Regions from separate parts of the Homo sapiens genome. Here all the other regions are linked to region 1. The links are contacts of gene promoters, found by promoter capture Hi-C in blood cells and fetal thymus (Javierre and others, 2016). All regions are on one chromosome and are shown on one strand. The core of a region is centred on a gene start or on the middle of the fragment in contact, and the rest is flanking DNA. Distances in the headings are between cores, read along the strand shown. Region 1 holds the start of CYP46A1 (cytochrome P450 family 46 subfamily A member 1). Region 2 overlaps EML1 (EMAP like 1). Region 3 overlaps EML1 (EMAP like 1). Region 4 overlaps CCNK (cyclin K). Region 5 overlaps EML1 (EMAP like 1). Region 6 overlaps EML1 (EMAP like 1).

The links. Contacts are between HindIII fragments. The CHiCAGO score rates a contact against its expected background, and 5 or more counts as called.
Region 2: a fragment that was not itself captured here is called in contact with the fragment with the promoter of CYP46A1 in region 1 in 1 of 17 cell types (endothelial precursors); the score reaches 5.1 in endothelial precursors.
Region 3: a fragment that was not itself captured here is called in contact with the fragment with the promoter of CYP46A1 in region 1 in 1 of 17 cell types (endothelial precursors); the score reaches 7.1 in endothelial precursors.
Region 4: a fragment that was not itself captured here is called in contact with the fragment with the promoter of CYP46A1 in region 1 in 2 of 17 cell types (non-activated CD4 T cells and activated CD4 T cells); the score reaches 5.2 in non-activated CD4 T cells.
Region 5: a contact is called between a fragment that was not itself captured here and the fragment with the promoter of CYP46A1 in region 1, in 1 of 17 cell types (endothelial precursors). The highest score is 10.0, in endothelial precursors.
Region 6: a contact is called between a fragment that was not itself captured here and the fragment with the promoter of CYP46A1 in region 1, in 1 of 17 cell types (endothelial precursors). The highest score is 19.2, in endothelial precursors.

Annotation. Positions count from the first base shown.
Region 1 is chr14:99,682,712-99,687,100 of GRCh38, forward strand. CYP46A1 (cytochrome P450 family 46 subfamily A member 1) reads left to right here and starts at 1,587. Exons shown (of 15, transcript NM_006668.2): 1 at 1,587-1,825. The coding sequence starts at 1,707. RefSeq lists an enhancer at 82-151 and a silencer at 1,392-1,971. The HindIII fragment of the contact is 4,802 bases long and covers 1-2,407 here.
Region 2 is chr14:99,839,276-99,843,784 of GRCh38, forward strand. All of the region lies in intron 1 of EML1 (EMAP like 1), which reads left to right. Among named protein-coding and RNA genes, the nearest start is that of EML1, 48 kb to the left of the region's middle. The HindIII fragment of the contact is 1,734 bases long and covers 1,262-2,995 here.
Region 3 is chr14:99,925,142-99,929,051 of GRCh38, forward strand. All of the region lies in intron 17 of EML1 (EMAP like 1), which reads left to right. Among named protein-coding and RNA genes, the nearest start is that of EML1, 130 kb to the left of the region's middle. The HindIII fragment of the contact is 7,367 bases long and covers 1-3,910 here.
Region 4 is chr14:99,485,132-99,489,604 of GRCh38, forward strand. The region is part of intron 1 of CCNK (cyclin K); the gene reads left to right. It also overlaps a transcript of SETD3 not described here. Among named protein-coding and RNA genes, the nearest start is that of CCNK, 6.0 kb to the left of the region's middle. The HindIII fragment of the contact is 378 bases long and covers 1,444-1,821 here.
Region 5 is chr14:99,867,016-99,871,091 of GRCh38, forward strand. The region is part of intron 3 of EML1 (EMAP like 1); the gene reads left to right. Among named protein-coding and RNA genes, the nearest start is that of EML1, 76 kb to the left of the region's middle. The HindIII fragment of the contact is 2,655 bases long and covers 897-3,551 here.
Region 6 is chr14:99,900,548-99,904,704 of GRCh38, forward strand. EML1 (EMAP like 1) reads left to right here. Exons shown (of 22, transcript NM_004434.3): 9 at 382-492. Among named protein-coding and RNA genes, the nearest start is that of EML1, 110 kb to the left of the region's middle. The HindIII fragment of the contact is 2,391 bases long and covers 1,606-3,996 here.

The DNA of each region.
Region 1 (4,389 bases), core at 337-2,836:
AACCACCCCAACCCACCTTCCAGTGCGCAGGAATCCACACCCTCCTTCTTGCAGCCTCATCCTCCCTCCAAATTGCCCTCAAGCCCCGGAGCTTTCACAGCCCACAGGGGACCTGGTGGCTCCGTTCCACACCTCACCCCAGCAGGGCCAGCCTGAGTTACCCTGTGGGCCTGCGGCTGCCTGTCACCGCCGCCACACGGGGGCGCCATAGCAAGCCAACATCCCCGAGTCCAACTGGGCGGCCGGGCCAGGCGCCGGGGGGATGGATGCTCTGCTGCCCACCTGTCCAGGCTGCGGTGGCCCCGAGGGCAGAAGTCCCGCCTCCTCCGTGCTGGGCACGGCTCTTAAGACTTGGCCGTCTCCGTCGCCCCTCAGCCCACACCCCTAACAGCCATGTCCCATGTCCCTAACTATACCTGGGAAGGCGGTACCAAGGTCCCCTTCGTTTTCCAACCCCCAACCTCTCCAGGACTGGCTCAAGCGTGGGGCAGGGGCATTGCCTCTTCTCAGAAACCCAGCAGCATCTACACTCCCTGGGCCTCTACCTCCAGCCCGGGGGACCTTTACCTGGGCTAGGAGTGGGCACACCTGGCCTTCCCCTGCCACGACTTTCACGCTGGGTGGTCCCTCGGGATAGGAATTGGGAACTAAAACGCCCAGAATTGGCCTCATCTTCATACGGGATGGGCAAGGAGACGCGGGTTACGACAGAGGGGGAAGCCCTGGTCATTATTTCGAAAATACCTTCTCCTCCGCTACCCCCGCCTCCCCGGCACATTTCCCGCTTTCCCTGGAGGGCGGACCCAGATTTTCATCCCTCCAACTCCAACTCCTTCGGGCCTGAGCCAGCGCCTCAGATGGGGCTTCGCCTGGTCTAGGAGGGTCCGCAGGCCCCCGAGTCTCTGGGAGAACAGCCTCCGGCCACGCCGTGCGCTCTCGGTCGCAGACACAGGCGTCCCTGGGTCCCGCAGGATCCTGCCACCAGCCCGCGGGCCCCGCTGGCGGACCACGGGCGCTAGGCGTGGACTGTCCGGGCGGAGGAGGCGCCCCGGGGCAACTGGAGAACAACTTTGGGGGTCTGGGGTTCCAAGGAGAAGTTTGGGAACAGTCGGCGTTATGCGGACTTTTGCAGGCTGGGATGGGGTTTCCGGGCAGGTTTGGGGGAAAAAGGAAGGGGCCTAAGACCGCGCGCGGAAAGATGCCGTTATTTGGAGGCGCCGAAGCGGGCGGAGCCAGCCAGCAGGACTTCGCGCCGCCGCCGGGCCAGAGCGCTGAGGATCGGCGTTGCCAGGGACAACGCGTTCTGGGCGGAGCTGCTGCTGGGGCGGACCTGAGTCTGAAGAGGTGGGGGCGGAGCCTGGGGGGCTGAGCCAGAAGCGGAGTTGTGATTGGTGAAGACCACATGCTCGGGGTGGGGCCTGGGCTGGGGCGGTGTGGAGGTTGGGGCGGAGCTCTGGGGGGCGGGGCGGGGCGGGGGAGGGCCCGGAGCGCCGGAGCCGGAGGCGGAGACGTGGTTGGCGGGGACTGTGCGCCCTGGGAGGGGTCGGAGTCGGCGGGGGCGGAGCCGAGCGGGCGGGGAGGGTGCTGGGTCGCGCCTGGCCTGGGGCCGAGGCGGCGCGCGGCGCTGACAGCTGAGTCGGCTCGCGGCCTCCCGGCCCCCTCGGCGCCCGGCCCGACCCTGGCCTGGCCTGCCCTGCCCCGGAGCCATGAGCCCCGGGCTGCTGCTGCTCGGCAGCGCCGTCCTGCTCGCCTTCGGCCTCTGCTGCACCTTCGTGCACCGCGCTCGCAGCCGCTACGAGCACATCCCCGGGCCGCCGCGGCCCAGGTGAGCGGGGCTGGGGGCGGGGCCTGGCTGGGGTGCTGGGACTGGGGGCCTGGGGACAGCGTCTAAGCCGGCGTCCAGGCCGGGGGTCCGGCCTCGCCTAGTGCGCGCGGCCGCTGGGAGTCGGCGGCCCCGAGAGGGGCGCTAACTATTCTTAGTAACAAATTACTCACAGCCGCAGCAGCTGCTGGGCGCCCACCGCGCACAGCTGGGCCCCACAAACGTGATGGCAGCCACAGCCCTTTCAGGTAGGCGCTATTGTTAACCCATCGTTCAGACGAGGAGACTGAGGCGCTCAGAGGCGAAGTCACCTGCCCAAGGTCACACGGTTGGTAAGCCTAGATTTAAGCCCAGGTCAGCCTGCCTCCAAAGTGGGCGCTGTTAACTTTGGGACTTGGACAGGGTCAGCCTGGATTGGAGCACGCTGTACTTCAGTCATGTTTCCTTTTGCTTGTATTTCTGTTCTGGGACACCCCATTTGTCTTCTCCTTAGTACTTACAATTGCATTCTTGGTCCCCACCCCCACGCAACTTACACCCCCCTCAACTTGCCAACCCCCCCCCACCCCCAGCTTAGCTTTGTGAAGCTTAAATTAAATGTGTCATTTCCCTGCTCCAAGGGCTTCCCATCACTTGACAACTAAATGCAGTTCTAAATTAAGTCGGCTGCATGGCCCGCGAGGCCCCTGCCGAGCACTCAGAACCCACTCTGCAGCTTGCTCTTTCCTCTTGCTTTCTCACTACTGCCCCCAGCCTTTCTTCTCCCAGCCTCCCCCTCCCCCCGCCCCCCCCGCAGCTTCCCTCCCCCCGGGTCCTTTTCTCAAGCCTGGGCCTGGCGGGCTTCTTCCTCTGCTTGTCTCAAACAGGCCTTGCCCAGCACCTTGTGTAAAGACCACCCAGCCCCAGACTTCTCAGGGGCCATCACCTCTGAGGTTACCTTCTTTCCACCTGTTGACTGTCTGTTCACCTGTTGACTGTCTCCCCCTCTAGAATGTGAGCCCCGGGAGGACAGGGACACTCTGTGTTCGCTTGTGTATCCCCAGTGCCTGGCGTGTTGCAGATCTCAATAAATATTTGTTGAATGAATGAATAAACAATTGTATTAGACACACTTTTTAAAATCTCAGGACATGAATATTCTGGAAGGCACCCATCTCCAGCACAAGCCAGATGTACTGGCGTTAGAAGCCTGAATCTCTGCTTGATGGGTTCAGGAAAGATCTCTGTGGCTGGTGACATAGGGAGGCACCTGTTCTCCCTGCTGGCTCTCTGCCCTTCTGGTGCTCTCTCTCTCTCTCCTTGCTTAGCTCCTCTGCCTTCTACTTTACCTGGATGCTTCTTCCCCCAGCCTTCCAGGTTTGGCTTCAATGCTAACTCCTCAGGGAGGTTCCTCCTGCTCCCCCAAAAATATTATGTTCATTTTATAAACCCTGAAATCACTGTAATTTTCCTTTACAGCATAATGTTAATTGGGCAATTATTTGTGCAAGTTTTTCCTAAGTGTCTCTTTTCCATGGGCCCCCTGTCTGTCTCAGTCACTGCTGCATCTCCGACATGTAGCAGCACATTGTACATGCATAGTAGACACTCTATGAATAGCAATTCAAGGTTGAATGGTGGAAATCTCCCGTGAGTTCCGTGGTGGACACTATCACCCTCTCAAGTTTTCAGAGAAGCCATCAGCACTTAGAATTGAATGAGTTTGGTGCTTGTTCTGATAAGTTTCATCGTTACTTGGTCTTCTCATAAACTCAAATGACCTGTTCTGGTCTCTGTGTCTTGAGAAAGCAGAATTTAAATCATCTTAAAAAAAATTGAAATGTAACTTGCATTCCACAAAATGTATTCTTTAGTGTATGATTCAGTGGTTTTTGGTACATTCACAGCACTGTGCAGCCATCGCCACCGATTTCAGAACTGTTTTGTCACCCCAGAAAGAAACCCCGTACCCATTAGCCATCACTCCTCATTTTCTCCCACCCCTCACAGCCCTGGCAACCATGAATCTGCTTTCTGTCTCTGTGGATTTGCCTGTTCTGGACATTTCATATAAATGGAATCATACAATATGTGGCCTTTTGTGTCTGGCTTCTTTCACTTAGTATAATGTTTCAAAAGTTCATTCATGTAGTAGCATGTATCCTTATTGCTTTCCTTCTTATGGCTAAATTCTTCCCAAATCTTATACCACAGAGTCTACATGTGACCTGAGTGTGTGGGGTGCGGAGGGAGCAGTGGGAGGAAGATGAATATAATCATGATTGGGCTATTTATTCTAAGGAGGTGAACTGAACAATGCATATATAAAAAGATTTTGGATTAAAAATTGGTTAGTGGTCAAATATAAAACTGCACTAAATGAAAGTTCTGGAAACTCTTCTAGCAGAAACCCGATGCCTTGACATTAAAAGCCTGGATCTTTAAACTATGATTGGCGATACTGTGGTTGACGAGAGATCTGTGTGTTGAGTCTCCAGTAGTAGCATTTGCCCCCGGGTACCCCAGGGCTTTGCCAGCTGGCAGGCAAGGAACCCTCTCGCTGCAAGAGGCAACTCTTCATCTTCCTC
Region 2 (4,509 bases), core at 879-3,378, 160 kb after region 1:
TGATTCTGGCATATAACAGTTGGGGCAGGGTGGGGGCTATTGATTTGATCCCTCATCTGTGTTCCTACATTTCTGTTATGGTTATTTGTTGGCCAGTCTCTTCTTGCTAGACTGAGTGCCCTTGGATTGGGAAGATCGCATTGCCCGGCACTAGGTCTGCCCCAGAAGGATGCTCAATATCATTGTACAGAATTAAACTGAAAGTTTGTTTCCTTTAAACTCCATGTCATCCAAGGTAAACACAGTCACATGTTGCCTCTTAGGGTGATCTTGAGTATTTTTTCTCATCTCCATCACCACCATTATCCAACCTAAGGCTTGTAAAAGATCTTTATACCATTTCTTTCCAGATTCAAGAGGCTCTGCTGAAGTTCTTTTAATCAATATTCGATGACAAATTTTTATATCAGGCAAAGGTTGTTGTAGAGCTCTTTAAGATTCAATTATGTGAACATTAGTTCTTGAGCTTCATTTGAAACAGGTTTATTTTGAGGTGGGATCGATTCTTGTCATTTTCTATGAAGTGATGAACGTCAGAGCCGGAGCTCTTGTGGCAGGTCCAGCTTGGAGGTGAGCAGGACACAGGGTTCCTAACTGACCCAGATGATCCAAGGAGAACTGGGAGTCTGAGAACAGAAATAAAGCTGGAGCCCAGCCAGGAGTGGTACGCAGGGCTGCGAATCTGACAGCAAGGCCGAAATCCAGGCCCGCAAGTGGCAGAGCAATGACAGTTAATTGCTTCTCTGTACTGATTGCTTGTATGTTTCTTTTGCTATTGGATACTAATAGGATGACTCCGAATATGACAATAGAGTATAACTATTCCGTGAACAACGTATAATATGGAAAGTCTGCTTTATGTGAAATGTTTATCTGCAAATTATTGAGCAAAGGGTTATTATTTGTTACTGCTTAAATGATTGGTTTTAAACTACTAAATCTGGTAAGTTTTTTTTCTAAATAGCATTTGTGTAATATTTTGGAAAAGGCAAAATGATGTAAAAATTCTATGTGTATTTTACTTAGTACCACAGAAATCTCACTGGAATTAATACCTGTCATTTGGATGGAGAACTCATATGGTGAAAAGAGCCTAGGCTCACAGCTCACCCTCGGCTGGCCACATTCTAGCCGTGCAACCTTAGGCAAGGTGGACCAGAAACTCAGGTTCTCCTACTTCATCTGTGGCATGAGGGTGGCACCTCTGTGGGAGGGCGCTGTGTGGCGTGGGGACACTGGGCATGGGGACACTGCACCACAAAGCTTAGGCCCTGACATACAGCGGCTGGTGAATCAAGGGTGGCTATTATTGTTTTGGTGCTATCATTATCTTAAATAATTAAAGAAAATAAGAACATCTCACGATAAAGGGAACAGATTCTAAGTTAACCTTTTAAAATTACTAGGCCACTTTAACCTCCGGGAATAGCACTCAGATAACAATGTCTTAGTATTACTGGAAGATTTACAGAGTCAAGAGCCTGCTCTTATCCCTGGATACTGAGATAATCACATGAATGGAGAAAAAAGCATGCTTCTCTCACCTTTTAATAGAGTGAAACACATCATGTTACCGGAAACCCTTTTGTTCTGTTTTTTACAGTAAGAGAAAAAGTAATTAAACTTCAAAGTCAGATCTGTAAATAGCTACATGAGGACCTATGGTAAAAGCAGAGCTACAAGGTCTTCTTTTTGCTTCTGAAACTGCGGGTGATGTAGGGGCTGCCCAGACCCATGGCATCCCTTGAAACTCAGAAAGAAGCCAGTGCTTGGCTGGGTTCTCATGAGAGTCAAGTTGGAGCTGGAGGCTATGAGAGGTAACACTTGGCCTGTCCTTTTGCCACTGGTCGTGTGCTGCCAAGTGGGAGGGCTCGTGTGGCATCAAACCATGCCTTATCTTAAGGCTAACATCACATTTCCTCAACTTGGCCAGAGGTGCTGCAGAGAGAGACCTGCACAGTATTTGCAGAATTTGTTCAATAATTATTGTTAATCGTTGATTTCACTGAAGATCAATGTTTGCTTTTTGCTCTTATAAACAAAACAGGAATATTCATAACAATGGATTCTAGTAAGGCTCAAGTACCATTTGTGTTGAGTGTCTGTATGCCGTCATAGTATTAGAAGTTTCATACACGCTAACATTCATCTTCACAGGAACGTCAGAAGGCAGGTGGTATTAGGTCACATAGCTAATAGGGGACAGATTAGGAATTGGCTACTGCTCAGTTTGAATCCCAAATCAGTGCTCTCTCTCTTGTGCCTCTAAAGCCCCAGGACCCAGACAGGGCAGTATAGGTAACCCTTAGCAGACTACTCTCAACAGTGTTTGGCCCTTGACAAAATGCCACAAAGTTGGAACGTGTAGCCCTGAGAAGGGTTGTTGGCAGAGGCTGCAGAGTGGCTTTCAGAGTGGTTGGCCAGCTAAGACATCTGCATCAATGCCTCGCACCACTGGGTGTTCAGTTTTCCCTCTGATTAAATCTTGTCTACCCTGTGCCCATAGAGTCAGCATGTGCTGCGAGATCACAACGTGGGAGATCGTTCCCCAATACTGAGATAGAGACACCGCCCCATAGACGCAGTTACACACTGCCATGTGTAAACAGATCAGGAAAGGAGCAGGTGCCCAGCCCAACCGGAGCTCCAGTTCACACAAAAGTTTTAGAAAACCCAAGAGGTAAAAGTTTAGAGAATATTGTCTTCTTCAAACCTCCCTCTAACACTGTAAAGTGATAATAGACAAGAATGTAAAAACTTGGGGGAAAAAAAGCTAAAGCTCAATTATTGACACTGTTTTAATGACCTCCACAGATAGATTTGAGAGGTATAGGAGCAAAAATGACTTTAAAATAAATAAGTTGTTAAAGTTTTATTGGTGCTGCATTCCCAACCTGAGGTTTTCTTTGATGAAATTCAGATGAAGTTTCACATCTTGTGCTGTGGAATCCTATGAAATGCTTAGAGATTCAAATGGTTTGTGTTGGTTAAAGCAAGCTTTAGGCTTTGTTCTTCATTATGCTAATCAGTTTTTCCCCCAGCTTAATTGAAGTGTAAAGTCATTTGAACAACACTGGTCTTTTCTGTACACAAGAAGGTTAAGAACCTCAGACAGCTCATGCTGCTGCCAAGAAGTCTCCCAGTCGTATTCTTCAGATTAATTACCTGCAGAAACAGAAGTAAGAAAATCCATTACAGGTTAAAGCAATGATTTTGGCAGGATCTGAAAAGCACTAGGATTATGTCATGGGGAAAACTTCAGCAAATCTCACAAATGGGGGCTCTCCTAAGCAGATCTGACATTTCAGTTTTTAACCATTTGTATTTGAAGGCAAATATTGAGGTGGTGGGGGTTTTTATTAAAATATTAAAATCAAACTTTTTCCTATATAAATTCAGCAATATAATTTAAATATTCTGATTTGTGCAGTTTTATTAAAGCCACTGAGACCACAGTGATGCTAAAGTTTTTGAATGCAGGGAGCAGGCCAGTCTTGCCTTACTCTGTATGTTGTTTTATAATATTGATTTGAAAATGCAAGGTTATACTACAGAGACCAACTTTTTCCTCCTCAATCCTGTGCTGGCAGCCACAATAAATGTGCTTGAGTCCCAGCAGTGAGCGTGTGTGCCTTCTCTAGAAGCTGCTGTCTGCACGAACAACCCAAAAATGTCATAGAAATGCACAGTTCTAGGCTGGGTGTGGTGGCTCATGCCTGTGTAATCCCAGCACTTTGAGACGCTGAGGCAGGATAATCGCTTGAGGCTAGGAGTTCAAGACCAGCCTGTGCAACATAATGAGACCCCATCTCTATAAAAAGTTTAAAAATTACCTAGATGTGGTGGTGTGCATCTGTACTTCCAACTACTCGGGAGGCTGAGATAGGAGGATTGTTTGAGCCCAGGTCAAGGCTCCAGTGAGCTGTAATCGCACCACTGCACTCCAGCCTGGGCAACAGAGTGAGACACTATTGCTAAAGAAAAAAAATAAATGCATGAGTCTATGCTACAGATTCTTTCATGATTTAAAAAGCAAATATTATTAATTATGCACTAATTTCTAATTATTCAGTGCTAATTTGCATAACCGTTGAGACAGCACATAGGAATTTTGTTAAACTTGGATTTGTTTTGGTAATTTTTATTGGAAACAACAATAGTAACAATAACTTAATTACAGCTTATATTTATTTATACATGCACTATATGCAAAAAGTATTCTAAGTACTCTAAATGTGTCAACTCATTTAATATTATAACAACCCTATGAAATACTCTTGTTGCACCTGTTTTATACATAGAGGCAGATAGAGATTAAGTAGTTTGTCCTAGGTCATGTAGCTAGTAAGTGGCAGAGCTGGGATTTGAACCCAGGTAGCTTGACTCCATAGTCCGTGCTCTTAAAGACTGAAGTCTATGCCTCTTCTGCCAGTGCTGTCAACACTGACTTAGCTCTAGAATGTCTTCTCCTACCTTAGTAGAACTCTCCCTGCCTTCCGCCTGAGGCCA
Region 3 (3,910 bases), core at 569-3,068, 240 kb after region 1:
TTGGTGTTATATTAAATATTTGACAGAATGTATGTGAATTTGGTGAAACTACCTGGGCCTTTCTTTGTGGGAAGGTTTTTAATTACTAATTCAATTTCTTTACTTCTTACAAGTCTATTCAGATTTCTTTTTTCTTTTTTTTTTTTTTTTGCTCTGTCACCTGGGCTGGTGTACACTAGCACAAACACGGCACACTGCAGCCCTGACCTCCTGGGTTCAAGTGATTCTGCCACCTCAGCCTCCAAGTAGCTGGGACTGCAGGCAGGCACCACCACACCCAGCTAATTTTTTTTAGAGACAGGGTATTCCTATGTCTCTAAACTGAAACTCCTGGGCTCAAGCAGTCTTCCTGCCTCAGCCTCCCAAAGTGGGATTACAGGCAGGAGCCACCAAATTTCTCTTTTCAACTCTATTTTTGCTTCATGTAGTTTGAATGAATGATTGGGCAGAGGTTATGCACAAATAACTTAAGCCAGTAAGGCTCCGTCCTCTGCCAGTGGCTCTGTGGGCAGGTTGAAGGGCATGTTCAAAGTTCAGGCCGTTTCCATGTCGGCCTGGCTTTTACTTTCCACTCACCCTTTTACATCTCCTCTATGCACATGTACAGATTCAGATTGGCCGGAAGGGTGTCTGAATAGGCAGGATCCTTTCCTGCCTCCACTGTGCATGCACCAGCCTCCCGTCAGCCAGGAATGCGCTCACCCATCCAATAACCGTAACCTCAAGCCAGTAGAAACCTTGGCCCTCCCCACCCAACTGCCCTAGAGATGGTCACTTCCATCCCAGTGCTACTATTGCCCAGGGCTCCATATGGAGTGAGCCCTTTTACCACAGCCGCGTGGTCCTCAGAGCCTGTTCTTCCCTGCCAGGACCGCTGTGCTGGCCCAGCTGCTGCGAAGGAGTGAGGGCAGCCCAGGGAAGAACATGATGGATTCACCCTGTTTTTACCTGAAGTTGAGAAGATTTTCAAATAAACAACACTTCTCAGATTTTCATGTCTTGTTCAATTTACAGAGTCTGGAAATGGTTGTTTTTGTCAGTTTTATAGAATTTCATAATTGCTTTATGGGGAGAGGATTGGCCAACCTTCTCATTTGGCCACAGCTAGAAGAACTGCCCTCTTATTTTTTGTGTTTTTTGGGGTTTTTTTTTTCTTTTTTTGAGATGGAGTCTTGCACTGTTGTTCAGGCTGGAGTGCAGTGGCATGATTTCAGCTCACTGTAACCTCTGCCTCCCAGATTCAAGCAATTCTCCTGCCTCGGCCTCCTGAGTAGCTGGAACTACAGGCTTACGCCACCACACCTGGCTAATTTTTGTATTTTTAGTAGAGACAGGGTTTTGCCAGATTGGCCAGGCTGGTCTCAAGCTCCTAGCCTCAAGTGATCTGCCCGCCTCGGCCTCCCAAAGTGCTGCGATTATAGGCATAAGCCACTGCCCCTGGCAGCTCTTATTTTTTTTAATGACTGTTTTTTATTGTTAGAGATGAGGTCTTGCTATGTTGCAGGCTGGAGTGCAGTGGGTACTCACAGGTGTGATCACAGTACACTACAGCCTCAGCCCCTTGAATAGGTGGGACTACAGGCGTGTGCCACTGCACCCAGCTCTGCCTTTTTTTTTTTTTAGACAGAGCCTCACTCTGTCACCCAGGTTGGAGTGCAGTGGCGTGATCTCAGCTCACTGCAACCTCTATCCCTCAAGCTCAAGCAATCCTCCCACCTCAGCCTCCCGAGTAGCTGGGACTACAGGCATGCACCACCATACCTGGCTAATTTTTTGTATTTTTAGTAGAGATGAGGTTTTGCCATGTTGCCCAGGCTGGTCTTGAACTCCTGAGCTCAAGCAATTCACCCCTGCCCTTGGCCTTCCAAAGTGCTGGGATTACAGGCGTGAGCCACAGCACAGACCTGCCCTCTTATTTTTAATATAACCACAGTATCGTTGTCTCCTCCCCAACCCAAATCAGCATTGATGTCTTAATATCATCAGATGGCCAGTTATATGTTCCAGTTTTCAATTTACTTTTTTTTAACAATTTGTTTAAACCAGGAAGCAAAAAAAAGCCCACACAATGGTAATTGGTTGATATGACTTACTAGTTTCTGTTAATCCATAGGTGTTCTCTCTCTCCCTCTATTACAGTAAATTTGTTGATGAAACTGGCTCGTTTGTCCTGTAGCATTTTCCACACTGGATTTTGCTGAATGCATCTTTGTGGTGTTGTCTTCACGTGTTCCTCTGTCCCCTGTATTTCCCATAAAGTGATTGCTGGATATCGAGGCTTGGTCATATTCAAGCTGTATATGTGTTGCTGTATTTTTCCTTTAGGAGGCACATAATGGGTTTTTCTCACTTTTTGTGACATTAGTAGCTGTTGTTACCCAGTGCCTAGATCCATAAAGGTTGCCAACTATTGATTTCCAATGTTAGCTTTTCTTCTTCATTTATTAGATATAGTACTTCTATGAAGAAAAACTTTCCTTCATCTACAATTTTGGTACCCAGTGGTAGAGTTCATATAGGAAAGTCAGAATTAATGCTTGATTTCATTCACTTTATTTTCCAGTTTCTGAGATAATACATTTGCTTTCTGCTCCTCTAACAGTCACCGATCAGTGGTGGTGATAGTAGTGGTGGTGGTAGTGGTGGTGGTATTGGTGGTGGGGGGGGTGGGGGGGTGGTGGTGGTGGTGGTATTGGTGGTGGTGATGGTGGTGGTGGTAGTGGTAGTAGTGGTGGCGGTGGTGGTGGTGGTGGTGGTGGTGGTGGTGGTGGTATTGGTGGTGGTGGTGATGGTGGTGATGGTGGTGGTGGTGGAGGTGGTGGTGGTGGTGATGGTGGTGGTGGTGGTGATGGTGGTGGTGGTGGAGGTGGTGGTGGTGGTGGTGGTGGTGGTGGTGGTGGTGATGGTGATGGTGGTGGTGGTGGTGGTGGTGGTGGTGGTGATGGTGATGGTGGTGGTGGTGGAGGTGGTGGTGGTGGTGGAGGTGGTGGTGGTGGTGGTGGTGGTGGTGGTGGTGATGGTGGTGGTGGTGGAGGTGGTGGTGGTGGTGGTGGTGGTGGTGGTGGTGATGGTGATGGTGGTGGTGGTGGTGGTGGTGGTGGTGGTGGGTAGTGGTGTAGTTTTGGTGCCATTATGGATTGAAGTTTATTTGCTGTGTTCCTGTCTGTTATATTAGGTGGAAGTTACTCTAGTTGGCTCCTGGGTCCTTTTGACGTGACCTCAGGAGCCTTTAGTACTTGTTCTCTGGCATAACAAGTTGTTCCAGGATCCTTGTATACATTTCTTACCTATAGCCCTTTCTCTCAGGAGGCCCTCCTTCCTTTTTCATCTGAAGGGAGGAGATCACAATATGGGTGTTAGGAGTGCTTGTTGCCACAGGGTAGGGGATTGTCTTGCCTTTTCATTATATGATTATGTTGTGGGAAATACTGTTTCTTTCATGCACAGGCCATTTGGCTATGCTGACACTCTTGGAAACTGGAGTTTTGGTTCTGGGAAATACGTGGCTGACTCTGAGCTGCTGGTCTCTGTAGGGATCTTCTATTTTATAACCTTATTGACAGCGTCAACTCTGCCTCACAGTGGGACGTGTCCTCGAGCTTTAGAAGATCTGATAGAGCATCTCTTTTGGATGTTTTTTCGTTGTCTCTGAACCACGTTCATAACTTCTCACCCTAAACAGACAACTGCTCAGCCCCCTTGGCAGCCTTTTGTCCATGTTGAGAAGGAGCTTGACTTGGAATGCCTTTCATTCATAACCTCCTCAGTATCACATTTCTTTCTGTTAATTTAGCCAGTGTTCTGCATCTTATCTTGTGTTTCTCACCATTTTCTCAGTTATTTTGAACGTCTGCTGAAGGCACGAGGGCCTCATCTGCAGCCTCTTTCCTAGAAAGCCATCTGATACCTG
Region 4 (4,473 bases), core at 383-2,882, 200 kb before region 1:
TTTATGTCCATAATATTTTCACTACATTTCATGAATTGTTTATATTCTGCCTTGGAACCTAAAGGGACCAGGAGTTTGGCCAGTTACAGAAGGTAAAACAATTGAATATACTTACGATTTATCCGCTTGTGGACCGAGGTTCTTTTCCATTCCAGTTTCATCCCTACTGGGGTATTCCTAACACTGTTCCCCGTTCTGCCCCTTTCCCCTCAACAGATATCTTGGCATTATACTTCCTAGAGAATATGGAGGTACTCTTGAGATTTTTTAGTTACTTCCTCCCCCTTAAAAGATTATTTAAAAATATCTTTCTCAAACTTTTCCTTCCATTCTCAGGGGAAGAAAGAGCTTTCTTTCTAAGGTTAACTTTCTTGCTGTGCTTTTTATTATCCCTTGACCAGTTAGCCTCCCTTGTTCTGACTCCTCTAGTGATTCCTTTTTGTTTTTACTGGCTGCAGACATTTTTCATTCTCCTTTATGCTGAAAAATATATAAAAACCAAAACAATAACAAAACCTACTCCCTACTATTCCCTGTTACTCTCTTTGAGAACAGATGCCTCAAAAGAATAACCTATTTCCAGCCAGGCACGGTGGCTTATGCCTGTAATCCCAGCTACTCAGGAGGCTGAGGCAGGAGAATCACTTGAACCCTGGAGGCGGGAGGTTGCAGTGAGCACCACTGCATTCCAGCCTGGATGACAGAGGGAGACTCTGTCTCAAAAAATTAAAAAATGAATAAAAAAGAATAACCTATTTCCTAGTCTGTTCATTCTTTACCACCCCTTGCAGTTTCTACACCTTCTGCCCTATTGCACTTCTAAAAATGTTATTTTATTTATATGTGTATATATGTATTTTCTTGAAATATAATCCTATACCGTACAAATTACCCATTTAAACTGTACAAATCAGTCGTTTTTAGTATTTGCAGAGTCATGAAACCATCACAATTTTCAGTGTCTCTAATAAACAACTAATCACCAATTAAAGTAAACTTTCCTTAGTTCCTTGTCCTTTAACTTTTCTTTAGCATTTGTCACTGTTGACTACCATCTCTGGTTTAAAGCTGACATCCCATGGTTTGTTTTGCAACAAAGGATGCAAATTTCCCTACTTCTTGGACCAGTCTTTTTCCCTTTCTCTAATTTGGTGATTCTTAGTCTGCAAGTGGGTAAATCATAAGTGCATTCAAGTCTGTTTTACCTTCCTGTCACTGGGCAAACGCTCGCCTTTGGTGATTCTTCCTACTTGGTACAAGTTCACAGAGTTCTGTACCCAGACCCCTTCCTTCTTCACTCTCCATCCCTCCATCCGTCAACATGACTTTATAGTTATCACCTCTGTGTAGATGAACCCCAAGTAGATATGTTCTGTAGAGACTTCAACTGGCCTATTTATCTGTCTGATAGATATTTCCACAAAAGGATCTTAAAGTTCTTCAAGCTTAGTATTTATAGAGCCAAATTCTTTTCCTCCCTCCTTATCAAAACCAGCTTTTTCTCTTGTCTTATCCATTTGTCTTTTTAGTATCACCCTCTGTGTCAGTCAAACTTGAAATCATCTTTTTCCATTCTTTGCCTCATGGCCAATTATGACACACACACCCCTTGTTCCAGCTGCCATTGTGTGGAGACAGGTGTATTAGGCATTACTTGAACTGCTACTATAATCTCCTAACTCTTCCTCTTTCTGCATACCTCTAAACAGCCCTTACCTCATTATGTTCTCTCCCCTTACATGCGTTATTATTTGTGGCACTTAAGATTCCCTGACAAATATTCATATATTTCTTTCTTATTGTCTCTCCCACTAGAATGTAAGCTTCCTGGGGCAAAGACCTTACTTATCTTGTGCCCTGCCATGCCATTAAGGCCTGGCTCATAGTAAATGCTCAGGAAATATTTAAATGAAAAAGTACATGGAAAACTGTTAGGCGTATGTATATTAAAGTAGCAATTCCCAACTGTGAATAAATTGCTAAGATGTGCTAAGATATTGATTCCCTCAGCCAACTGTCCAGTTGCCTTCTGTTCTATAAGAATATATGTACATGTTTAACACTTATTAATAATCAAACACCAGAAACATTTACATGCCCAAACAGTAGAATGTATAGATAAAGTGTGTTGCATTCATAGGATATAACTGTACTGTACAGCAGACTTTCTCAGCTTTGGCACTATTGACATGTTGGACCAGATAATTTCTTGTCATGGGGGATTGTTCTGTGCACTGAGGACATTCAGCAACATTCCTGGCCTCTACCCACACTAGATGCCAGTGGCAACCCCCCAGTTAGGAAAACCAGAAGTGTCTTCAGACATTGCCAAATGTCCCCTGGGGGGCAAAATTGTCCCAGGTTTAAAAACCACTGCTCTGCGGCAGTGAGAATGAACAAATACTGCTTTATGCAACAACAGGAATGAATCCCATGAACTTAATATTGAGCAGAAGAAACCAAATGTAAAAGTGGTACTGTGTCATCGCACAGTCCTTCAAAAACAGGCAAAACAAATTGATGGAAATAGAGGTCAGAATAGTTATCTTTGGGAGGATAGTCACTAGGAAAGAACGAAGAGAGCTTCTGGAATGTTGGTACTGTTCTCTTTCTCAACTGAATAGTGTTAACACAGGTGTGTTTACTTTGTGAAAAACAATCAGCCATACACTTATAATTAGTTCACTTTTCTTTTTGTATGCTATAATTCAAATCACAGTGTTGTAATTTATGAAAGCAGTACCCACACATAAGCAAGTATTCCTTGGCTATCGAGGGATTGATGAAGATAAGGAGTCCTCCTGGTCTCCTATTCAGTCTCATCTGACTTTTTCCCCAACTTTTTATTGTATGAAAGAATAGTGCAATGACAACTTATTTACCTGTGGACACATGTTCGTTTTTTGCCATGTTTACTGTGTGGTTGTGTTTTAGCTGAACCATTTGAAAGTAGGTTGCAGACATCATGACACTTTACCCAAAATACTTCAGCCTTCATCTGCTAAGAATAAAGTCATTCTCCTGTGTAATCACAATATCATTATTACCCCCAAAGAAAATTAACTGACAGTAATTCCCTCCCTAATACCCTCTAATATACAATTTATACTTAAATTTTTCCAAATTGTTTGAAATTTCTTTTTTTTAAAAAAAAAAAAAAAGCAGGATCTAATCAAGGTTCACACATTGCATTTTGTTGTAGCCCTCTTTAGCCTTTTTAAATCTAAGACAGTCTCTCAAAATGTTTTTTCATAACACTGTTTTGAAGAGACCGGGTCAGTTGTTGAGTAGAGTGTCTCACCTTCTGGATGTGACTGATAGTTTCCATGTTGTGCTTTTTTCACTTACTCTTGTACCACCAGTATTTATTGTAAACTGGAAGTTCGGTCAAAAGTTTGCTTAAATTTAGGTTAAGCTTTTGGGGGACAAGAATACTACATAGGTAGGTGATATTTATTTCACATTGCATCACATCAGAAGCCATGTAATGTCAGGTTTTCACCCTATTAGTGATGTCAAGTGTGATCATTTTGTTAAGGATCAACTGTATTTTTTTTACAGTAGTTAATATCCATGCTAGCAAAGTCGCATTTATTATCAGTAGCATTTTATTATCAGTAGTTATCAGTGCTAGCAAAGTATTATTCTCTATATGTATTAATATTATGGACACTTGGATTGTATGTTCACTATTTTATGATCAACCACAGTTATTTTTCTTTTTGCTATTCAAATTACCTTGGATTAGTCCAGTGGGCACCCATCATGGTGGCTCCTATGTCTTTTTTTTTTTTTTCCCTAGCAAATCATTCCTTCAGCAGTCCTATGTCTTTTGATAAGCTTTGATTAGTCTGAGTACATCCCAGGCAGGCTCCAACCCCAGACTGGAAAGAAACCTGCTTCCTTTTAGAGGGTATTGGTATTGAAAAAGTTAAGATTTCAGAATTAGGAGTGTCATTCCTTCTTGGTACTTGAAAAGGACAGAAATGGGATACATATATATATATTTTTTTTTAACCATGATTTATTTTGATATCTTCAGTTAAAGTTTAACATTACAGATTTGTTTCTTAACATTTGGTTTTCTGCATGTGTGCATTTGTTTTCTTTGCACTGAAAATCTTGGTTCCTAACAACATTAGCATTTACATATTTGCTTTATTCCACAACATGCAAAAAAAAATGTGTTTGAAAATTACAACATTAATGACACTACTAACAGTACACTAATGAAGTTTTAAAATTTCGTTGGGGCCAGCCACTGTGGCTCATACCCATAATCCTAGCACTTTGGGAGGCTAGGCGGGAGGATCGCTTGAGGCCAGGAGTTCGATGCTGCAGTGAACTAGGATCATGCCACTGCACTTATAGCCTGGGTGACAGAACAAGACTCTGACTCTAAAATAAGTAAGTAAGTAAATAAATAAACAAATAAATAATTCTTTTCAGTTATTTTTGTCCTTAGAATATATC
Region 5 (4,076 bases), core at 974-3,473, 180 kb after region 1:
TGATCCTGTTACCCAGATAGTGAAGATAGTACCAAATAGGAAGTTTTTCAACCCTTACCCACCTCTCTCCCACCCTCCTTTTGGAGTCCCCAGTGTCTCTTATCCCCATCTTTATCATATTTTGTCTATACATTCATCCATCAGTGGCTATTCTGTACCATTTATCTGCACATCTGTCCTTATGGCCAATACCCTACCATCTTGATTACTATTGCTTTTTAGTATGTTTTAAAATCAGGAAATGGGAGGCCCCCAACTGTATTCTTCTTTTTCATGATTGTTTTGGCTATTTAGGGTCCCTTGATATTCCATATGAATTTTAGGATAGTTTTTTTCTATTTCTGCAAAAAAATGCCTTTGGGATTTTGATAGAGATTGCATTAAATCTGCATATCACTTTGAGTAGCATGGAGATTTTAGCAATATTAAGTCTTCCAATCCATAAACATAGGATGTCTTTCTCTTTTTTTGTATTTTCTTTTAGCAAAGTTTTGTAGTTCTCAGTGTATGAGTCTTCTAACTCCTTGGTTAAAGTTATTCCTAAGTATTTTATCCTTTTTGATGCTTCAGTAAATAGAATTAATTTCTTAACTTCCTTTTCAGCTTGGTCATTGTTATTATATAGAAATGCATCTGATTTTTGTGTGTTGGTTTTGTACCTGAAACTTTGTTGAAATTATGTATTAGTCCTCACAGTTTTCTTCTGGAATCTTTAGGGTTTTCTAAATATAAGATTCTGTCATCTGTAGACCGATAGTTTTACTTTGGATCCTTTCCTATTTGGATGCCTTTCATTTCTTTCTCTTGTCTGATTGCTCTGGGTAGGACTTTGAGTACTATGTTGAATAATAGTGGCAAGAGTGGGTATCTTGCCTTCTTCCTAATTTTAGAGGAAAAGCTTTCAGTCTTTTACCATTGAGTATTATTTGAGCTGTGGCCACTCAAATATGGCGTTTATTACATTGAGGTAGTTTCCTTCTATTCCTAGTTTGTTGTGTTTTTTTATCATGAAAAGGAGTTGAATTTTGTCAAATGCTTTTTCTGCATCAGTTGAAATGATCATGTGGTTTTTGTCCTTTATTCTGTGAATATTGTATCACATTGATTGATTTTTATGTGTTGAATCATTCTTGCATTCCAAATATAAATCCTAATTTGTCATGGTATATAATCCATTTAATGTGCTGTTGTTTTCAGTTTACTAGTATTTTGTTGAGGATTTTTTCATCAGCATTCATCAGGGATATTGGTCTATAGTTTTCTTTTCTTGTGTCTTTGTCTGGTTTTGGTATTAGAATAATGCTGGCCTCATGCAATGATTTGGAAGTGTTCCCTCCTCCTCAATTCTTTGGAAGAGTTTAAGGAGCATTGGAATTTATCCTTTTTTAAATGTTTGATAGAATTCTCCGCTGCAGCCATTGGGTCCTGGACTTTTCTTTGTTGGGAGGTTTTTGATTACTGCTTCAGTCTCCTTACTAGTTCTAGGTCTGTTCATATTTTTTGCTTCTTTATGATTCAGTCCTGGTGGGCTTTGTGTTTCTAGGACTTATCCATTTGCTCTAGGTCACCCAATTTGCTGGCATATGCTTGTTCACAGTGGTCTCTTATAGTCCTTCTCGTTTTTGTTATATCCGTTGTAATGTCCTTTCATTTCTAATTTTAGTTATTTAAATTTTCTGTCTTTCTTTGTTAGTCTAGCTAAGGGTTTTTCAATTTTGTTGATCTTTTTTAAAAAAAACAATTCTTGGTTTTGTTGATTTTTTTCCTATTGTTTTTCTATTCTCCACTTCATTTATCTCTGCTCTAATCTTTATTATTTCCTTCGCTCTGCCAACTTTTGGTTTTATCTTCTTCTTCTAGTTCCTTGAAGTATAAAGTTAGGAGGCTGATGTGAGATCTGTCTTCTTTTTATGAAAACTTTGATCACTATAGACTTCCCTCTTAGTACCCCTTTCACTGCCTCCTGTAAAGTTTTGGTATGTTGTGTTTTCATATGTCTCCGGATATTTTTAAAATTTCTTTGTGATTTCTTCTTTGACCATTGATTGTTTAAGAGTGAGTTGTTTAATTTAAAGATTGACTTTTTATTGTAGCAAATACATGCATGCCTCATTTTATTGTGTCTGGCTTTATTGTGCTTTAGAGATACCACATTTTTTTTACAAATTGGTGGTGGTGGCAACCCTGTGTTGAGTAAATCTATCAGCATCGTTTTTCCAACATGTACCCACTTCATGTCACATTTTGGTAATTCTTGCAACATTACAACTTTTTTGTTATCATTATGTCTGGTATGGTGATCAGTGATCTTTGGTGTTAATACTGTAATTGTTTTGGGGCACCAAAAACAGCACCCATAGAAGGTGGCAAACTTAATCCATAAATGTGGTTTGTGTCCTGACTCCTCTGCCCATTGTTTCCCCATCTCTTTCCCTCTCCATTGGCCTCCCTTTTCCCTGAGACACAACAATATTGAAATAAGGCCATTTAGTAACCCTATAATGGCCTCTAAGTGTTCAAGTGAAGGAAGAGTCATACATTTTTCACTTTAAATCAAAAGCTAGACATGATTCGGCTTAATGAGGAAGACATGTCAAAAGCCAGGATAGACCATCATGTGGTTTAGATGTTTGTCTCCTCCAAATTTCATGTTGAAGTGTGATCCCCACTGTTGGAGATGGGCCTGGGAGGAGGTGTTTGGTTCATCAGGGTAGATCCCTCATGAACGTATTGGTGCTGTCTTCACAATAAGTGAGTTCTTGCTCTGAGTTCACTCAAGGTCTGGTTGTTTAAAAGAGCGTGGCACCTCCTCCCCACTTGCTCCCTCTCTTGCCAAAGGACGTGCCTGCTCCTGTCTTGTCTTCTGCCATGATTGAAAACTCCCTGAGGCCGCACCAGAAGCTGAGCAAATGCCGGTGCCATGCTTCCTGGACAGCCTGCAGAACTGTGAGGCAATTAAACCTCTTTTCTTTATAAATTACCCAGCCTTGGGCATTCCTTTATAGCTGCACAAAACGGACTCATGCAGGCCTGTTGTTCCAAACAGTTAGCCAAGTTATAGATGCAAAGAAAAAGTTCTTGAAGGAAATTCGAAGTGCTACTCCAGTGAACACGTGAATGATAAAAGAAAAAAATAAAAAGCAACATCCTTATTCCTGATAGGGAGAAAGTTTGAGTGGTCAGAATCAAAGATCATACGAGGCACAACATTCCCTTAAGCCAAAGCCTAATACAGAGCAAGGCCTTAACTCTCTTCAATTTTATGAAATCTGAGAGAGGTGAGGAAGCTGTAGAAGAAAAGATTGAAGCCAGCAGAGGTTGGCTCATGAGGTTTAAGGGAAGATGCCCTCTCCATAACATAAAAGTGCAAGGTAAAGCAGCAAGTGCTATTGTAGAAGCTGCTACAGGTTATGCAGAAGACCTAGCTAGCTAAGATAACTGGTGAAAGCAGCTACACTAAACAACACATTTTCAATGTAGATGAAACAGCGTTACATTGGAGGAAGGTGCCATCTAGGGCTTTTATATGAGAAGTCAATACCTGACTTCAAAGCTTCAAAGGACAGACTGACTCTTGTTAGGGCCTGATGTGGCTGGTGACTTTAAATTGGAGCTAGTGTTCATTTATCATTCCAAAAATCCTAGGGCCCTTAAGAATGATGCTAAATCTCTGCCTGTGCTCTATAAATGGAAGAAAACCTAGATGACAGCACATCTGTTGTAGCAATATGATGTACTGAATATTCTTAGCCCATTGTTGAGGCCTACTGCTCGGAAGAAAAAGCTTCCTTTCCAAATATTACCATTCATTTACAGTGTACCTAGTCATCCAGGAGCTCTGATGGAGCGGAAATTAATGTTTTTATGCTGGCTCACACAACACGCATTCTGCAGCCCTTGGATCAAGGAGTAATTTCAACTGTCAAGTTTTATTATTTAGGAAATAACATTTTTTTTTTTTGAGACAGTCTTGCTCTGTCACCCAGGCTGGAGTGCAGTGGCGCGATTTTGGCTCACTGCAACCTCCGCCTCCCGGGTTCAAGTGATTCTCCTGCCTCAGCCTCCCAAGTAGCTGG
Region 6 (4,157 bases), core at 1,551-4,050, 220 kb after region 1:
TAGCAACAAAACAGACTTTAAAAGAATAACCCATATGTGAGATTCCATTTTACTTGTCATTTTTCATTTCTAAAATTCAGACACATTTAGATGCACAAATTAAAGTGTCAGTTCCCATGGTACTATTGTCAAAAATTGGCCATTCAAATTCTAAAACTTGGTAGACCTCTCCTTACTGTTAAATTATCAACAAGGCCCTCCACCTCCTGAAGTCATCGGGAATGTTTTATTTACATAAAAAGGCAGACTCCTGAAATGCAGAAAAAGATCTTTTGTTTTGACAAAGTCCGAGTTACTGCCCAAGTAATCTTGTAGCTTCAAGGTAAAGACACATGTGTATCACCATCACAATTGATGGCTCTGTGTTTCTTTTCTGAACAGCAATTGCCCCCACATGTGCGCATCTGGGATTCTGTGACATTGAATACTCTCCACGTCATTGGAATAGGTTTTTTTGACCGAGCAGTCACCTGTATTGCATTCTCAAAATCTGTAAGTATGTGCCCTGTGGATATTGCTGTCTTCTTCCACAGGAAGTAGAGAATCAACTCAGGGTTGAAGAGGGGGAGTTGACACACTCGATACCTGCCTGGGTGTATGTACAGATTTGGACTCTGAAACATTCCTGCTTCCCAGAACCCCTCAGTCAGAGGTCATATGCATGTCTCATCAGGGACACACACTTCCTTCCAATCAGACATCTCCAGCCACATGGGTTTGGTGATGAAAACAGGCCCCCAGAGATATCGTCCTCACTTTCCTTAAGGCAGTTTATGTGCTCTGGCCTTGAATTTCACCTGCTTCTTTCAAGGGTGGCTCCAGCGTGTCTGTCTCTGCCATCCTGCTACTGGAAAGGGGTCCCGATCCAGACCCCAAGGGAGAGTTCTTGGATCTCTTGTAAGAATTCAAGGCAAGTCCATAGAGTAAAGTGAAAGCAAGTTTATTAGGAAAGTAAAACACTAAAAGAATGTCTACTCTATAGAGCAGCCCTGAGGTCTGCTGGTTGCCCATTTTTATGACTATTTCTTGATGATATGCTAAACAAGGGGTGGATTATTCATGCCTCCCCTTTTTAGACCATATAGGGTAACTTCCTGATGCTGCCATGGCATTTGTAAACTGTCATGGTGCTGGTGGGAGTGTAGCAGTGAGGACAACCAGAGGTCACTCTTGTCGCCATCTTGGTTTTGGCGGGATTTAGCCGGCTTCTTTACTGCAAGCGGTTATATCAGCAAGGTTTTTATGACCTGTACCTTGTGCCAACCTCCATCTCATTCTGTGACCTAGAATGCCTAACCACCTGGGAATGCAGCCCAGTAGGTCTCAGCCTCATTTTCCCCAGCCCCTATTCAAGTTGCTCTGGTTCAAATGCCTCTGACATTTCTCCCCTCCCTTTTATAAGAGAATCCTTAATCCTAAGGGTTGTAAAGGGACAAAGATCCATCTTCTGTAACTTCTTCGGGCTGAATAGGGATGATGATATTCCTGCCTAACTATTAGGGTCTCTTGTATTTGGGGTAGAGAAGAGCTCAGTCAGAAGACGTCAGTATGGCAAGGTGATATCTGGAAGATTATTAAGTGTTCAACTTAAGAAAACATTGAGTAAGCTTATCCTGCATTCCTACACAAAGAGTGCAACAGCAATATATTCCACAACAGTAAAACAAAATAAACAAAATTATCCCAAGTAAACTAAGTAAGAAGGCTTTTTATTAACTGGGCAACTATTGGAACCAAGCTGATATGGGGTCGCTAGCTGATTCCAGTGTGTCCAGAATTGGAATACTGATCCAGATATTTACATTACCCATTGCTTTTATTTCTTCTGAGCCGCAGTCAGAGATCACTGGTTGGTTCACAGGAATAAGCAGGGTTAGTTTAAATAGCAGAAAAAACTTAAAAACGACTGATGAAACTAGAATCTAATGACAAATGTACCATAGTTCTTGAAACATAATTTCTGTCTCCAGTCTCCCATTTTTACTAAAGACAAACCATAACAGGACTGATTAGTTTGGAAAAATAAGCCTTAGTCTTGTATACTTGGCTTGATTATTTGTATAAAGTGCAGCAAGAATAATTATTTTTCACATAGGCTTTTTAAATTGGCTTTGATGGAACTCTGTTCCATAAGGAATCTCAGATAAGACCTTTTTTAAAGCCAAGCCCAGCCATAGGTTTATATTCTCAAATACCTATGGGTTGGGTAAATTCCTCTCCTCTTGGGGGGTCCCAAGATAACTTGGGGCTCCTGGGCCTGTGAGAAAGTGACATTCTTTACTTACCACAGATCAGGAACCCTGTACAGGGACTGTGGAGACAAGGTACAAGGCCAGTTTCCCCCAAGGGGCTTCTATTGACTCTACAATTCAATTTGATTCCTTAAAGGAAAGCATGCCATTCCTGTGAAAAAAATAACCAGTTTCTCCAGTTGTGTCCTGTTACAAACAAAAACAAATTCTTTACAATTATGCAATTAACTATATTGCCATAAATTAAGAATACTCACAAATAGTTTCTAAATTCTGGAGAGATCAGGTTGAGAGAAACAAATATGCTTCAAATTTTGTTCATAGCAGTATACTTTACTTAATTGTTAAAAGCTCTAAATAGCTCAAAAGAAAAGTTTTCTTGTCTTTGAAAAAAGCAAAGGATCAGCAACATTTTAAGCAAAGTCAAAAAAGATGATTTCAATCTTCTATTAGTTTGGTTCATGCAGTTAACTCCTGTTCTGCTTGATATTCAGGAACATTTCAGCTCCCCATGAGAGTCCTGAAAGTTTTTTCCTCTATTCTCATGTTACAACTTTGAAAGTAATCAGAAACTTGCATTCAAGAGCACCTGTTAAAGGCCTATATCTGATTATAAGCCACCTTTTAAATAGGACCAAAACAAGACAAGAATTGTCTGTGGATGACAGAAAGTCTTAGGACAGCCACAATTAAAGCCACAATTGACAAGGAAATTTGGTTACTCCTGGAGCATACAATAATTTAACATAACAAGTACAACTATTAATAACATACACTAAGTCATATCAGAATTATAGGAGTTTCACCTAATTTTGGAACACATGCCAGTAACATATTTATACAAATACAGCCCAAAGAAAGCCAATTTCCTATTTGACAATGCTTCCTGTATGACTTTTATACCAAATAAGCCAAATTTCACCTTTACATTAGTGTACTATTGATGTTAAATATTCTTAACAAAATCTCATAGATAAATCTATTCATTTTTTTTTTTTTTTTGAGACAGAGTCTCACTCTGTCACCCAGGCTAGAGGGCAGTGGCATGATTTCAGCTCACTGCAACCTCCACCTCCCGGGTTCAAGCAATTCTCCCACCTCACCTCCCTAGAAGCTAGGATTACAGGTGCACACCACCATGCCCAGCCATTTTTTTGTATTTTTAGTAGAGACGGGTTTCACTGTGTTGGCCATGCTGATCTCGAACTCCTGACCTCAAGTGATCCACCCGCCTCGGCCTCCCAAAGTGCTGGGGTTACAGGTGTGAGCCATCGTGCCTGGCCAATGTATTCAATTTTAATCACTGTGACCATAAGGTAAGATTTTTATAAACCTTTTATTAATCCTTTACAATTTGTGTTGAAAAGCAGATCATTGCTCAGAGAAAAACCTGTTGTGCTTTTATTCCAATGTTTAATTTACAGAAAAACTGATTAATACCCCTTTAACTTTAGCCAATATGTTCACACAGAATTTCTTTACAAGATTAATTTCTCTCAAACTTTCGACAACTTGCTTAAACTTTGAGCTTTATTCTATCTAATTTAAAACAATAATTTAACCTTTTAATCTAGGCAAAAAAAAATCCACATTTCCATGCCTTCTTATAATCTATTACCAAAAGACATTTCACTTTCTTTATACACCTTACATATAAAACAGTTTTTATTTCCCAAAAATTACTTAATTCATGTGAACTGAAAGGCATTACACTTTTTACTTTTCTTACAAAATATTTGATTTAAGCTTATTATTATTATTACACCAATTAATCAAAGCTCTTTCATATATAAACATCACACACATAATACATGTAAATACACAGACAGAAAATAAAGGACTCATTCCCTAAGCCAGGAATTGAACCCTGATCCCAGGCTGCCACTGTGATGGCAGAGACCAAGA